Regions from separate parts of the Homo sapiens genome. Here region 1 is linked to region 2. The links are contacts of gene promoters, found by promoter capture Hi-C in human tissues and cell types (Jung and others, 2019). All regions are on one chromosome and are shown on one strand. Each heading gives the region's core, a stretch centred on a gene start or on the middle of the fragment in contact. The rest is flanking DNA. Distances are from core to core; before and after follow the strand shown.

Evidence for each region. The method cuts DNA at HindIII sites, captures the fragments that hold promoters and counts their contacts. A contact is called where the count stands out against the background at its distance.
Region 1: a fragment that was not itself captured here is called in contact with the fragment with the promoter of NTN4 in region 2 in 1 of the 25 tissues and cell types used here (H1 embryonic stem cells).

Annotation. Positions count from the first base shown.
Region 1 is chr12:95,836,062-95,839,524 of GRCh38, forward strand. The region is part of intron 1 of SNRPF-DT (SNRPF divergent transcript); the gene reads right to left. Among named protein-coding and RNA genes, the nearest start is that of SNRPF-DT, 21 kb to the right of the region's middle. RefSeq lists a silencer at 2,257-2,457. The HindIII fragment of the contact is 5,755 bases long and covers 1-3,463 here.
Region 2 is chr12:95,788,712-95,792,198 of GRCh38, forward strand. It overlaps NTN4 (netrin 4), which reads right to left and starts at 2,053. Exons shown (of 10, transcript NM_021229.4): 1 at 1,544-2,053. The coding sequence starts at 1,598. The HindIII fragment of the contact is 9,266 bases long and covers 1-3,487 here.

The sequences.
Region 1 (3,463 bases), core at 571-3,070, 47 kb after region 2:
AGCAAGATTTTCTTTTCAGAGAACAATGATAAATTCAGCTCTAATGGAATTCCCATAAAGTCCAAATTAGTCAAGTTTATATGAATGCAGATTTATTATAATCCAGAATGAAATGATTAAGAACAGAATATCCTCTTTTCCCCACAAATGGACCACAAATATATCAAATTATCTATGAAAACATGATCTTCTTTGATCTCATACAAATTCCTATTATTTGTCATGGAGTAAGGCCTTACTCAGTATTTGCTCATGTATTATTTAATTAAAATGACTCATGAAACAAGTGTGTCATTATGCTGGCTTGCCTATTGTCCATATTCACATACTTGAGTGTATCCTTATTCTTGCCTGGAAAAGGCATATGCTGCCTTGGGCATCATTCCAGTTAATCTCTTCAAACGATTTATGAATGAGCATTCGTGAATGTAATTAAGTAGCAAACAGACTTTGAACAGCAGTAGGGAAACAATCTTGAATTCTTCACTCTGAAACTACTTCAAACGTTATGTCCAAATAAAAAGAGGATCTTCACTACCTATTTCATCCCGTCTGCTCAGGGAAGGCTAAATATCTGTCCTGTTCCTATTTGGATAGGTGAAGATACTTGGTTTAAAATCCACATTCTATACATTTCCTCTCCCCATCTCATCTCACTTTCATCTTCTTGCCCAGCAGGAGAGAGTTAACTCAGCCAGAAATGTGGGTAAATACTGGAAACTTACTCAGATGCAGAAGGGACTGTGGCTCAAGATGTTATAATGTCCAGAAAGCAGGGAATGTGTTGGCTTGAGTTAATGCCAGCTTCCTTGTTTACTGGTGAAGTGTGCTTAAAAGATAAGTCTTTGGAGTGTAAGTGTGTGCAACCTGAGAATGAAAGAGAGAGAGCAGAGAGGGAGGAGATGGAGAGGAGAGGGAGGAGAGAGGGAAAGAGGGAGAGAGGGAGGAGAGAGGGAAAGAGGGAGAGAGGGAGGAGAGAGGGAAAGAGGGAGAGAGGGAGGAGACGGGGAGAGAGGGAGGAGAGAGAGGGGGAGGGTGGAGAGAGGGAGGAGAGAGAGAAAGAGGGAGAGAAGGGTGAGGGAGGGAGAGAGGGATGAGGGAGGGAGAGAGGGAGGAGAGAGGGAAAGAGGGATAGATGCAGGAGAGAGAGAGGGAGAGAGGGAGGAGAGAGACAAGGAGAGAGGGAAAGAGGAAGAAACGGAGAGGGAGAGAGGGAGGAGGGAGAGAGGGAGAGAGGGAGGAGAGAGGGAGGAGAGAGGGTGGAGAGAGGGAGGAGAGAGAGAAAGAGGGAGAGAGGGATGAGAGCAGGAGAGAGAAACGAGAGAGGGAAAGATGGAGAGAGGGAGGAGAGGGAGAGAGGGCGGAGAGGGAGAGAGGGCGGAGAGGGAGGAGAGAAGGTGGAGAGAGGGAGGAGAGAGAGAGGGATGAGAGAGGGAGGGAAGAGAGATGGAGAGAGGGAGGGAGGAGAGAGGGAGGGAGGAGAAAGGGAGAGATGTGAGAGGGAGGAGAGAGGGAGAGAGGGAGAGAGAGATGAGGGAGGAGAGAGGGAGAGAGGGAGAGGTTCAGTGGCTCAGGCTTGTAATCCCAGCACTTTGGGAGGTTGAGGCAAGAGGATTCCTTAAGCCAAGGAGTTCAAGACCAGCCTAGGCAATGTAATGAGACCCTGTCTTAATAAAACATTTTAAAATGTGTGTGATGGGTGTAGTTCCAGCTACTTGGGAGACTGAGATGGGAGGATCACTTGCGCCCGGGAGCTTGAGGCTGCAGTAAGCTGTGATCACACCCCTGCTCTCTAGCCTGTGCGACAGAGTGGGACACTGTCTTAAAACAAAGGGCGGCGGTGAGGGGGGAGGAGGTTTGAGGAAAAGACCATATGATACATTATGGTCAACTTTTGCAAGATTCTGAAATTCTGCTGGATGATTTTGATTATAACAGAATGATTAATATTAATTGTGTATATAGCCCTGTTAGCGGTGGAGAATCCATATCCATCTGGGTCTGCAGCAACCTCAATTCTTGCCTCCTCAGAAGAAACAATTTGACTGAGGGGCAGAAGGAGAGACCAAGACAAGTTTTAGAGCAGGCGTGAAAGTTTATTCAAAAGCTTTAGAGCAGGAAGGAAAGGAAGGAAAGTACACTTGAAAGAGGGCCAAGCGGGCGATTTGAAAGACCAGCACGGTTTGAACTTTTGACTTGGGGTTTTATACCTTGGCAGGCTTCCGAGGTCTTGCGTTGCTTCTCCTGCTCATCCAACGCTGAGATCTGATCCGGAAGCTGCTGATCACCAGTTTCAGCTGTTTTCTATCTGGTACGAGACTGTCTTTCCCTAGTGCCAGCTGTGACCAATTATTACTGTAGAGAAACAGTTAACAACCGCCTGACCTCACAGGATGGCCTCCCGACACACCTGGTGTGTGAGTAGTGGGGGAGCCCTCTCCTTCCCTGCTCACACCTGACTATAGCACAAGATATTGTTTAGATTATTATTATTCTAATATTACCAATGCTAACTTTAAAAATGAATACATTTCCACCACCTCTTAAAGGAAAGATTCACTGGCTAATCTCCTCAGATAAATATATTCTTTTTTTTTTTTTTTTTTTTTTTTTGAGATGGAGTCTTGCTCTATCACCCAGGCTGGAGTGCAGTGGCACGATCATGGCTCACTGCAAACTCTGCCTCCTGGGTTCAAGCCATTCTCCTGCCTCAGCCTCCCCAGTAGCTGGGATTATAGGCATGCATCACCATGCCCAGCTAATTTTTGTATTTTTAGTAGAGATGGGGTTTCACCATGTTGGCCAGGCTGGTCTCAAACTCCTGACCTCGTTATCCGCCTGCCTCGGCCTCCCAAAGTGTTGGGATTACAGGTGTGAGCCACTGCACCTGGCCAGATGAATATATTCTTGAATGAACATTTACATGTTTAAATTAGTGTGTATGCAAGTGACTTCAGGGTCATGGTGACCATATTCTGTAAATCCATCGTATGGAACATAATTGTGAACGAATAGTTATGGGCATAAGCATTCATAAATGTTAAAGACCTAACGCTAACTGAGTTAAAAAATAATCTCTCTATTATCAAGGGCACACTTTCTAATGGCAAAATTTTTTAAAATGAAAAACCCGGGAAATTATAAAGAAAATTTAACCATCCCAAATCCCATAACCTAAACATAACAACTAATAACATTTTGGTGTTTATTTTTAGTCTGTTTTTCTAGACACATATATTCAAATGTCCATATTTTGACATTATTAATATTTATTTACATATTTTGATGTCTTATATTTTCCCATGTCATTAGAATCTTTGTAAATATTATTTTAAATTATGGCATTACTTTTTTTTTTTTTTTTTGAGGTGGAGTTTCGCTCTTGTTGCCCAGGCTGGAGTAAAATTGTGTGATCTAGGCTCACTGCAACCTCTGCCTCTCAGGTTCAAGAGATTCTCCTGCC
Region 2 (3,487 bases), core at 803-3,302:
CTTCCTTAGGCATTATTTTTTAAATGTCAAATTAAAGTGTGCATTATGCCTGGGTTCTGTTTGCCACTTTTCTCATTAGCTGGGGCAACAGTTGCTTGTGGCCAGAAGCACACAAACACACAATGTGCTATGACTCACCTGTAAAAAATTTCAAGGAAAATCATATACTGCCTGTACAAGTATTTTTGACTTGAAACACTTGCCTTGTGATGTTTATTTACAACCTTTCAATGGCTTGCATGTTTTTGCCATAATATGGTTTGAGAAGGAAAAGGTTTTTTTTAAAGCTCATATTTTAAGAGTGCAAGAATTAAAGTAAAATCTTAGGCCTTTAATAGGTCCCTGGGAAAAATATCCAATAATTTTAAATGCCCCTAAACTCCTAAGTCCAGAAAAGATTTGAGCCAGATAAAGAATCCATGGGGCAAAATACTTGGAGTCACTCAAGGGACTATTCAATGATACTAAGGATGCTCCTGTGACTTGGACTGGTTTGGGATGCAGACTGGAAAGCCTGGATTTTGCTGGGTGCCAGCGGCCCTCAGGGAAGAGTGGAAGCCCAAGGGAGGAGATGCGTGCTACAATGTTCTGTAGCCACCAGCGCATCCCTCTAGCCCAGGCGCCCCTTTCTGAAGCAGTCAAGATCCGCACGAGAGACTGGATGTCTGCAGACTCCCTCACATCTCTCCCCCTCACCTACAGGGCTGCGCTTACGCCTAACTGGAAACCAGGTGACCCGCAAGAGGGAGGGAGAGGAGCAGAAGGGGCTCCCGAATACAGAAACCACGAGCCAGGAGCCGGTGGCCTAGGGCAGCCCAAGAAAGCCAGGATGGGAGTGGGAGGGAGAGGGCATCTGCCGACGCCGACGCCGGTTGTCCAGTTACCGAGCCAGGGAGCAGACCCGCCTCCGACCTCCCGCAGAGTCTCTGCCAGGGTACCAATTCCCCAGGGGCGGCCAGCCAGCTCAATGCAAGCCCGGGGTGATCACCACCTATCGTCCAAGCCAGGAGTCCCACTGCGTTCCAGTCACTGCTCCGGGGAGAGGGCGCTCAGCCCTGCCCCAGGTGTCCTTACCTGGTTCTCTAGTACCCAGCACCAGGTCAGGGACACCAGCGATGGGCTTCTACCAGAGACCGGCCCCAGCCCACGCGCGCCCAGGGTCGCTGGGCCACCCCTCCTCATCATTCCTTAGGCCATGAAGTGCCGGGGGATGGCGAGCTGGGTCCTTTGTTCCCTCACCAAGTGGAAAAGCAGTTTTTTAACAAGCCAAACCAAGAAAGAAACCCCGGTCGCAGTATCCCCGGCAGGGCGCACCCAGGATAGCTGGTTATCCAAGCGCATGTGTATCCCAGTTGTAAAAATAAATCAATAGTATTTGAAACTGCGGAGCCCCGGGGAAAGGAGGCGGAACATGGCCACTCATTTCACCCTCGGGAGCAGCGCTCTGCGCTCGCAGCCCTGGCTCCCCTGCACCCCCGAGTCCCGAGATGGGTTAGAGAAGCAGCGAGGGAAGGGGTGGGGGCCCCGCCGCGTCACCACCCACCTGCGGCCACCACCGTGCAGCCCCAGAGCAGCAGCAGCCGCGCGCAGCTCCCCATGGCCGGGAGGAGCCGGGAGCAGCCGGGCCGGGCGGGTGCCGGAGGGAGCCGAGACCTCTGGGCTGCGGGATGAAGCGCCGCCGTCCTCGGGAGGGAACGGGGCCCTGGTTTCTTCCTCCTCCTGGGGCGCCGGGCTCGGTCAGCGGTCGCCGGCAGCTGGGAGCCAGGGGCCGGGACCGCGCGGGGAGGTGGGGTGACCCTCGCGCACCGGCCTGGCGGGTCCCGGGCACCTGGGGGGCGGCGGGAGCCCCGGGACCATAGCCGGCCTGGCTGCGCTGCCCCGCGGAGCGGCCCTGCGGGCTCGTCTGCCGCTAGCCCGGGGCTCGGCGCCCGCAGCCGCCGCTGAACTTTGCGAGACCTTTCACTTCCCGGCCGCCGCCGCCGCCTCCTCCTGGGCGTCCTCCTCCGCTTTTCCCACCTCTTCTGGCTGCCCCGGCTCCGTCCCGTCCTTCTCCACGGGCAGTTCCATGCGATGCATTTTTATTGCACCGACGCCGCGGCGCTCCGGTGCCAGCCCTCCTCCCCTCGCACCTCCACCCCTTCCTCCCGCCCGCCCCCCGCGCTTGACAGCCCGGGCGGCGCAGCCCGCGGGATCGGATCGCCGCTGCCGCTGCCGCCCGGGGGGGGGGTCCCCCGCGCCCCGACCGACGCCCCCGACGCCCGGCTGCCCGCTGGTCCCGGTCGCCTCAGCCTGGCCCCCGGCTGCCCTGGCGCCCCTCCTGGCCCGCGCCCTGCATCTCCCTAGTGACCCCCCTGGTGCCCTGCAGCACCCACAGGCCTCCCCTGGGAAGCAATCTCCCACCTTCTCCCGGAACATTCCTAAGAGCAGTAGACTCCCTCTAGATCAGGTCAGGGCATGCCAAGGGGCTTAAAAAACCGCGAAACAGGCTAGCGCCTACTTCCCACATCCCCCAGCGAAACAAGCCCTCCCTCCTCCTCCAGCCACCCCCTCTCGGGGAGTCCCACGACCCGGGGACGGAACACCCCAACCCAGCCCCGCGTCACCCGCACTGAGAGCGCGCCAACTGCTAAGCGGCGTTCGCCGCTTCTCTGCTGCCTTTTGCGGGGGTAGGGGGATGTCTCGGCTAAACAATCGCTGCCTACATGATCCGAAGGTGTGCCCACTTTGGTGTAAGAGGTATTGCCTAACTCAAACTCAAGGTGCTGAAAGAAAAGGGTCACAGGATTAGCTAGTCGGCAGTGTAAGAACATCGTTGTCCAGAGGCAGGGCAAGGGCACGACAAAGGGAACTCTTCGGTCCTTCCAAGCGTTCTCCCTTTATAGAGTATGCCGTGCTGTGAAACAGTGTTAGGAACTAACTTATGGGGAGCAATTTAGTAGCAACCACACGCAGCTAATTGCAGATAGGATTGCTCAGGGCTGGTGCTTCTGGAAAGAGATTAAATAGCAGCCGAGTCTGAGATTTTTGCAAGTTCTGTGAAAATATAATTCTACTTACACATCCAGGGAAACTGGCAAAAGTTAAGTCGACAGCAATTTTGTATTGCAGTGCTCATTTTGTTCCTTTGAATATTTTCCAGAAAATTAACTACGTTCCAGATACCATTTAGTCGTTGTGTCTGTTACAGATGAGGATAATTCAGAGCTTTGGGATACATGTAGATATTATTTACAATGACCCAGCCAGGAACATATAAGAAGTTTATATCTCCCAGGGGGATCTGGGTTGAGGTCAGCATAATCCATTTGGGCGACATTAAAATTATTCTTCTGGCCAACAGAGGAAAGTAGCAGAAGGTGTGGACAGCAATTCATGTAGCATCACCTGCTTTAGAAAATAAACGCTTTGAGTTCCCAAATACTGGCAATGGTGGGGCTTTCTTCATATCTCCTAATGGAGCCATTGAAACACCTCTCCAATTAATCTT